Regions from separate parts of the Homo sapiens genome. Here region 1 is linked to region 2. The links are contacts of gene promoters, found by promoter capture Hi-C in blood cells and fetal thymus (Javierre and others, 2016). All regions are on one chromosome and are shown on one strand. Each heading gives the region's core, a stretch centred on a gene start or on the middle of the fragment in contact. The rest is flanking DNA. Distances are from core to core; before and after follow the strand shown. Region 1 overlaps PDGFRB (platelet derived growth factor receptor beta). Region 2 holds the start of TIGD6 (tigger transposable element derived 6).

Region 1 (4,278 bases), core at 1,552-4,051, 120 kb before region 2:
CCAGCCTCCATCCAAAGATTTTAAGCATAACAATGGCATTCACTTAGTAATTCAACAAATAGTACCAGCTACCTACCATGTGCCAGGTGTGGTTTTAGGGACTGAGGTTATAGCAATGGATGGGGAGGAGGAGGTGGGACAGGACTCCCTAGGGAGCAAAGAAGCATAGATTGGGGACAGAAGAGGAGGGAATGAGTTCCATAGGACCTCATGGGTGGCCAGCAGGGCAGGGCAGGGGAGAGGCAGGTCTGGCGGGGCTGGATGAGGAGAGTGGGAAGCTGTACAGCGAAGAGGCTGAGGCCTTGAGGGTGGAGGAGACTCGAGGCTTGTAAGGGCCAGTGTGAGCCCCACTTTGTTAACTACCGTCACCACTCCAACCCCAACTGGGCCCTTTGGGTGAAGTGGGGAGAAGTGGCCTCCGTGCTGAGGTCTGGATTCATCAGGCTGGGGGTCTCAGCCATTGCTCCCTCAGTGGCCACTCACTCAGTCCACCGGCCACTCGGTCAGGCATGGAGCTTGGAGTCTGACCGAGCTGTGGCAGCCCCAGCAAGGGTGTGGACTCAGAGGAGAGGTAAGCCACAACCCAGCCCTCAGGGGCTCCAGGGCTAATGGGAGGTCCAGGCAATGGACAGGAACTCAGAACAGGATTTGCACCCCGTCCAGAGCTCTGGCAGCAAGGCCAGACTGACTGGCAGGGCTGAAGGGACGTGGAGGCCAGCAGTGATCTGAGTGGGGGTAGTTACTGAGGGGATGGAGTATTTACAGGACAGTCTGAACGTGTGGCCTAGAGCGAGATGCTGAGGGTCTGACACTGCAGGCTGATGGGGAGGTGGGCGCTTCTATTCTGGACAGGATGTGTACGGAGGGATCTATGATGCCAAAGATGGGGTGAGGGGAGGGTAGCTGCCCAGTTTGCTCATGGCCTGCTCTCATCTCTGCCTCCAGCCTTGCCCTTTAAGGTGGTGGTGATCTCAGCCATCCTGGCCCTGGTGGTGCTCACCATCATCTCCCTTATCATCCTCATCATGCTTTGGCAGAAGGTAAGCCCCTCCCTGGCCCAGTGGGTGAAGACTGGCACATCATTATTTTGCATAAATTCCACCCCTCTGCCCTCCTTGAATGCTGCGTGATCTGGCCACATGCAGGGCTCAGCATGGAACTCAGGTGGGGACTTGTGACGCTGGCTGTCTCAGCTTCCTCCACCCCCAGCAGTCTGGGCCAACCTGAGCCTGGCCCGAGCTATCCAGGATTCCCTTCCCCTACTGTGTCATTAAGTCCCCGGGTCCTGCTGAGACACCATTCCTCTCATCCTAGCCATGGAGCATGGGACCTTTGAGGTGGACTGCATGGGCTCCAGGATTCTTCCAGGTCTCACCCATGGAGAACCTGTGATTCTACTGAAATGCATTCTGATCCTATTAGTCTGTAATTTCAGTGTTCTGCTTTGAGATTTTACCATTCTGTGATTCCAACATTTTAAGCTTCCTGAATCAGGATTACAGCACCTCATGATCCCATCTTTCTAAAATTCCAGTCCTGTGGTTCCAACACCTTAAGATGTCAACATTCTAAGCTTACATCTTTCTGACTTGCCCAGCACTGGGGAGGGCCATCCGCATCCAGCCGAGTACCCTACCTGGTGTCACTTTCTGGGGTCACCTGCTCTACTACTTCCATCTGAGGAGCAGCGAAGGCTGGGAGAGAAGCTAGAGAGGAGGTTCTCATGAGCCAGGCCCTCAGCTGCCAGTTGCTCCTCAGTCTGCCAAGTCCTGAAGCCTCCTCTGGGGCCCCTTGGTCCCTGTTCCCTCCGAGCCCACGAAGACCTTGGCTCAGTTGAGCACTTGCTGTGTGACTTCAAATATGCCCCTGCCCCTCTCTGGGCCTCAGGGTCTCCTGCCCCATGTGTCCTAGACGGACGAACCTAATGGGGCTCAGGGCCTGAGACTCCCTCTGATAACTAATTCCTGGGGTTGGTCCTCCAGAAGCCACGTTACGAGATCCGATGGAAGGTGATTGAGTCTGTGAGCTCTGACGGCCATGAGTACATCTACGTGGACCCCATGCAGCTGCCCTATGACTCCACGTGGGAGCTGCCGCGGGACCAGCTTGTGCTGGGTCAGTCCTGAGAGGCCTCATGTGGCAGTGTGGGGACTCAAGTTGGGTGGGAAGACTCTCTGAGGTCTGGTCCCAGCCTTGCCATGACTAGCTATGAGACCTAGGGCTGGTGTCTTGCCTTCTCTGGCCCTCCATCTCCTACTATGTACAATGAGAGCAAGACCATCCCCCAGGAACTGCCTAGCATTGAGGTTCTATGATCCTGTGACCCTGTGAGACGGGATCCCTATGTGGCAAAAGTGGAAGGATTGAGGACAGGCTGAGTAGCAGGCCTGGTCTGGCTGGGGAAGCTGAGGAGGTACAGAGAAGCGTGCTCCCTTGGGAGGGAAGAAACTTTCCAGAGATTAAAGATGGGGCAGAAAGCAGGCAGGACTTAGATGAGATACCAGGAAAGACAGGGAGGTATTGTGGTTGCAGGAGTGTGTTTAGGGAATATCCTGAGTCCAAGGTGGTTTAAGTAATGTCTAGGTTGACCTAAGAGAGTGGCTCTTTCCCCTCACTGGGCAGGAAGGGTGATAGCGGCCGGGGGTAGGGGAGTGGGGGGAGGGGGGCAGCTGGGGGAGCGGTGCAGCTTCCTGGTAGGCCAGGAGCTAATGGATCATCTCTGCACCAGGACGCACCCTCGGCTCTGGGGCCTTTGGGCAGGTGGTGGAGGCCACGGCTCATGGCCTGAGCCATTCTCAGGCCACGATGAAAGTGGCCGTCAAGATGCTTAAATGTGAGTAGTCCTTGGAGCCCTCCACATCTGGGCCTTCACCTCTCCCTGCCCCTCCCCACACACTTAGCCTCTCCCAGGGTGGCCTGATGCTGATTTGCAGGCACTAGAGGGGCCATCACACTGCAGCAGGCACTGCTCCCGAGTCTGGGTCTGGTTTGGGAAAGAGCGTTCCTCTCCCTGGCCTCCTCGGCCTGCTTCCCCCTACCCTGGCCTCTTCCCCTCCTCAGAGTGTGGGTGCTCACCCCCGCCAGGCTGCCTGGGTCTTGCAGCACAGGGCGGGGCAGAAGAGTCAGAATAGGCTCCTGTGGTGGGGCCTCCATGGAGCCTCCATGACTGGGCCTGGCCTGGGGCCCCCATTTTCCTCAGCCACAGCCCGCAGCAGTGAGAAGCAAGCCCTTATGTCGGAGCTGAAGATCATGAGTCACCTTGGGCCCCACCTGAACGTGGTCAACCTGTTGGGGGCCTGCACCAAAGGAGGTACCGAGCCCACTGCCCCAGAGGCCTCAGGGAAAGTGCCCACCACCAAGGCCAGGCCCCGCCTACCCCCCCCTCAGGCCTTGCACAACAGCACACTCCTGCTGGAGGGTCCGTGCCCACCCGCTCCAGCGCCCTCACTGCGCGGTCCCAGAGGGCGGTGGGGTTTAGAAACTCACAAAATCACAACACCTTCAAGGCTGAAGGATTAGTCAGGTCACCAGTCCCAGCAGCTTCCAGACCATGGTGTTGGCTGACACTTTTTTATTTTCCCAATACATTTTGAAAACCAATAAATAACAGCTCACATGACATTAAGATGAGTTATATGCCCACCATTGGAGACCACCAGCTTGCTACTTGGGAGCTACCTTCATTTGATCATAGAAGAAAGTCTCTGTGGCCAACTGGGTCTATTTGAAGCTCTGATTGCCAGTTAGGCTGAAAAAAAATGTTATCACCATTTGCAGCTGCTTATTGTGAGATTTGGGATTTTCCTCAGCATTATGCAACCAAAATAAAATACAGAAGTATGTTGGGTACATAGACTTATTCACGTTTGCAATGATCGCTCATTTCAACATTTTCGTTTGTGTAGATATCTTCAAGTTCTCACTGATTGACTTTAAGTAAATGCATTGTAGTTGAATTTAACTACTAAAGTGATCGTTGTAAACAGTGGCCTTTATCTGCTTTCTATACTGGGCTCCAAAGTAAGCTTTAGTTTGAAAACATATCAATAAGAGCCAACACTGCGAGCTCGCCACGTGCCCAGCCAATAAAGACATCATCTCATTAATCCTCATGACAGTGCTTTGTGGTGGGTTTAATTAGCCCCACTTAACAGCTGGGGAAGGTAAGGCTCAGGGAGACTAAGTACCTTGCTCTCCACCACAGAGGCAGGAAAAGAATCCAGATTTGCAAGGCACTAAAGCCTCCTAGCCGTCATGCCAAAGTGTCTCTCCCACATC
Region 2 (4,340 bases), core at 1,183-3,682:
CTGCAGTCTCCACCTCCCAGGCTCAAGTGATCTTCCCACCTTGGCCTCCCAAGTAGCTGGGACTACACATGTGCACCACCAAGTCTGGCAAATTTTTAAATTGTTTGTAGAGATGAGATCTCATTATATTATCCAAGCTGGTCTCAAACTCCTAGGCTCAAGCAATCCTCCTGCCTTGGCCTCCCAAAGTGCTGGGATTACAGGCATGAGCCACCACCACACCTGGCCAATTGTAATTAACTGAAATAGCAACATATGCTAGGAGCTAGAGACAGCACAGATCTAAACAGTCATCTGACCAACCAACATCAGCTCTCTGGTGCTGGGCTAAAAAACAGAGAATCTACTAACAGCTTTTATGTCTAGGAAAAGAGGCATAAAAAACTTAATAACCAGTTCAAGAAGAGTTAGTTTTTTTTGTAGCCAAGTTCTAAATTGGACTTTTACCACAAGTCTCAATCCTTGGAGGGAGAAAGGCTCACAGAAACCACTTGAATTTTACAAGAGGAAATAACATAGTTGCCCCTGAAAATCTGTCAGGAGGAAATTTAGAATTCTGGGAAGAGGCAGTTGTGGTGGTAAATATGGGACTGATACGTGCAGTACAAAGCCCACACACCTCTCATTTAGACCTCACTCCACAAATAAGGTATAATGAGCACTGCATGTGGAGTCAAGAGACCTAAACTCTAACCTTATGATCTCAGAGAAGTCTATTCCACATCCTAAATTTCAACTGTTTCTACTGTGAGAAAAGGATGAACCCAGTGGCTCCTAGTCTTTTGGAGGCAAGAATTCTTTTGACAATGTTGCGAAAGCTTAAAAAAACAAACAACTACAACAACAAAAAACCTCTCCTAGAAATTGCAGACACACTGTATTTCACCTATAATTTTCAGGATATACCCCAGGTAAAGCACACATTATTCCTTAGGTTCTTCCTAGTTCTCTGTCATCTCTAAATGATTCCTCTTCCTATTAAAAACAAAAACTAAACTAACAAAGAAAAACAAAACAAAAACCTACATTCTAACTGCCATAGTGCAACCCAGGAAGAGAACACAGTCTACAACTTGGCTGGGTAAGCAATAGGCCAGTAAAGGATAAGGGAAGCAGTAGTTCAAATCAAGGCTACGTGGGGACTGCGCTTTTTTGCCCTGAATTGACTTCTGGGCGGCTGAAAGCCTTGTGGAGAAGGGCAGTAACTGCAGGAGAGCATCTGTAATGAATGGCATATAGGGTACTAAGCACCCTGCGCAAAACGGGTTAGGAAACACTCATTACAGCCACCTTGGGCTGAGGGCAGGAAGACAACACCCTACGGTTTTGTTTGTTTTATTACCCTGTTCTAAGCCTGAGTACAAGTTTGTTATCAGACTCGAGGCAGCAGTATAGCAATGCAAAAAAAGGCAGGACAATTTAAGGTTAAAAACGAAGGGCTCTAGAGGACAGAAAATCCGGGTTCTAGTACAGACTACACCAGTCGCACCAGCACGGGGACCTCTGACCTTAAGCAATCTACTTACCCTAAGTCTCCGTTATTTCATCTGTAAAACAGAGTTAAGGTCAATACCTGAAATATGCGAGACACTTTCTCTGTCCCATCAGATCCTCCTTGGAATCTCACGAGATTGCCTTTGAGGGCTCAGCCATGGGCCACAGTTTGACTCTGGGCTAGCTCCTTTCCCTCATTCTGGGTCATGAATGAAGCAAGAGCCAAACCAGACAAAGTCTTGGTCAAGCTAAGACGTCTGGGACATCCGAATGTCCCATACGGATTGCGGAAGGAGGACACTAAGGCTCAGTGGCCCTACTTTGTGGAAGACTCAGTAGAGGCTCAGAGAGCCGCAGCATCCAACTCGAGGTCGCCCAGCGGCTCGGCGCGGCCCTCGAAGGCGGGACTTACCCGGAGGAGCGTGCAAGCTGCGCCGCTCACATTCCCGGAGGCGCTTGGCCCGGCGGCTGGACGAGGGGGATGGCTGGCGCACTCGCGCTCCCCGCTGTCGGCGAGAGGCGGCTCCAGTCGTGACAGCAGCAACAAGGAAGTGGAGGCGAGGGCTCGCGCGCGCATCCCGGGGGCTGAAGGAGCCCCGGCCCCGCGGCCCCGCCCGGCGACACACGGCGCGGAGTCGCGACAGCCCCTCTCGCTTCCCCTCCTCGGAGTCGCGATATGGGGTCCTGAAGGGCAAGAATAGGAGCACAGGTTCGCTCCGCAGGCTCCTCACCGATGCCTGCCGAGGGCCCCGGGGGTCAAGCCCCGGGGAGCTCGAGGAAGACGGCAGGGACACGGTCGTCACCGAGGCACCGGTTTGGCGGCTGCACCGGCAGTAGCGGCACACCACGGATCGCCAGGGAGACCCGTCCCGGCGGCCCTCGCGGCGCACCGGAAGCGGTCGGCAGCGCGTGACTGCATGCGACCCCTGGCGCAAGCGCAACAGCCCAGCCCTAGCTTGGGAGCGGACCCACACGAACTGCTCAAAGGCTTGGAGCGGGTCTAGTAAGGCGAACGGACTGCTTCCGGCCAGAGGTCCCGGGCGGAGGAGGAAGCTGTGGCTGCCGGCGGTGGGACGCCCCGGCCGCTCAGCCCCCGGGCACTGCTGTGGGGCGTTCAGGTAACAGGGGCGGGGCTGTGCTGAGCGTGAGGGATCTAGGCCCCGCCTCACCTTTCAGAGCCACGTCGGGCGCTGGGAAGCCTACAATACCACCCTCTCCTCAGCACGACGTTCAAGGCCTGACCTCAGCCTGTCTCAGTCTTTCCCTCTCATTCAGGATCGGGTTCATACGTAGTGCCGCATCAAGTAGCGCCTTCATCACTCCAGTGATCTGCCCTCAATCCGTCTCTCCCACTGGCCCACGAATAGTGATGGTAGTGAGTTCCTGGAGTGACTCAAGCTGAGCTGAATGACCGTATGGAGAGCTTCCGTAAATCAAATAGGGATTGGATTGGATTGTCCTTTCTCTCCAGTGTCACAAGTTGTCCACATTTGTACAAGTTCCCGCACAACCCTCACTGTATTCCAGTCTGCCTACTTCTCTGCATCTACCGCCATCACCAACCTTCTAGCCACCATCATCTCCTGCCTGGACTGATGTAGTTCTCCCCACATCCCCTCTACAATCCATTCTCCACGAAGCAGTCAGATTGATCATTTTGCACTGTAAGTCTGATCAAGTCACTCCCTGCTTAAAACCCTCCAGTGTCTCATTCACTTAAAATAAAATTCAGACGTCTTAGCTTGACCAAGACTTGTCTGATTTGGCTCTTGCTTCATTCTCTTTCTATGTCTCCTCTCAATATTAGTAGTTCCCAGAACCAGCTATATAGCACTCTGTAGTGTTTGGAGTGCTAGCTTTGTTGTGAGCCTCCTGGGTTTGAATCCCAGCCCTGCCACAAGTAAGCAATATTAAGCAAGTAAAGTGCTTAACAAATGAGGTTTACGCAGTAGATCCTCCCACCTCAGTAAATGGCACCATCATCTGCTGGATTCCTCAGTGCTCAAACCAGAAACCTGGGCGTTATCCTTGACTCCTCCTTCACCTCACATCCGGTCCAGCACAGGGCTTGCAAAAACATAGCCCCAGACTGACTACTACTCACCATCTCTCTATTACTACTCTAATCCAAGCCACCATTATCTCATGTGGACTCCTGCTTTTTTCTCTGATACCCTTCCATTCTTTACACAGCAGTCATCTCTCCTTCCTTAAAATCCTTCAATAGCTTCCTATTGCACTCAAATTAACATCCAAACTGTATATGGCCTACTGGTTTAGCCTGCTTTTATCTTCAGATTTAAGGCCATCTCTTAGGAAAATCAACTTTACCCATTAGGTTCTCTACCCTGCAACCAAAAGACTATATTGTAAATCTGATCATGTCATTCCAGAAAAACAAAACCAAAAAACCGTCAAAAGCCTCTTAATGCCCCCAAAGCAAGCTAGAAACCTGACTAGGACTTCCTGTGATTTGGTCCTTGCTTTCTTCTCCAAAGAATTTTTTGTTCCTGACCAGGACATTCTATTTCCTATATAGTATTTCATTGCCTTTCATGTTAAATATTTCCTTTCATCTCATGAGTTCCTATTTGTTTATTCTTTAAGGCCCACCATATTATTCCCTCTTTGAAGTGCACTGCCCATCCATGCTCCATTCCAGTTGATTATCTGCACATTTATGTTCCAGTAGTACTCCGTAACCTCTGATTTAGTTTTCACATGCTCTAGTGTTTGTCTTCCCTGGTAGGCTCCTCAAAGGTGGGCACTATGCTCCATTCATCTCTGTATGGCTGGCATCAAGCATACTGCTTAATACATAGTACATGTCATGAATGGATGGATAC

What was found. Contacts are between HindIII fragments. The CHiCAGO score rates a contact against its expected background, and 5 or more counts as called.
Region 1: a fragment that was not itself captured here is called in contact with the fragment with the promoter of TIGD6 in region 2 in 5 of 17 cell types (megakaryocytes, endothelial precursors, M2 macrophages and 2 more); the score reaches 11.9 in megakaryocytes.

What each region holds. Positions count from the first base shown.
Region 1 is chr5:150,123,282-150,127,559 of GRCh38, reverse strand. PDGFRB (platelet derived growth factor receptor beta) reads left to right here. Exons shown (of 23, transcript NM_002609.4): 11 at 946-1,040; 12 at 1,983-2,115; 13 at 2,729-2,833; 14 at 3,200-3,310. Among named protein-coding and RNA genes, the nearest start is that of PDGFRB, 30 kb to the left of the region's middle. The HindIII fragment of the contact is 2,452 bases long and covers 1,576-4,027 here.
Region 2 is chr5:149,998,746-150,003,085 of GRCh38, reverse strand. TIGD6 (tigger transposable element derived 6) reads left to right here and starts at 2,432. Exons shown (of 2, transcript NM_030953.4): 1 at 2,432-2,612. It overlaps HMGXB3 (HMG-box containing 3), which reads right to left and starts at 2,347. Exons shown (of 20, transcript NM_014983.3): 1 at 1,907-2,347. RefSeq lists enhancers at 1,453-1,532, 2,420-3,208 and a silencer at 2,613-2,692. The HindIII fragment of the contact is 5,274 bases long and covers 821-4,340 here.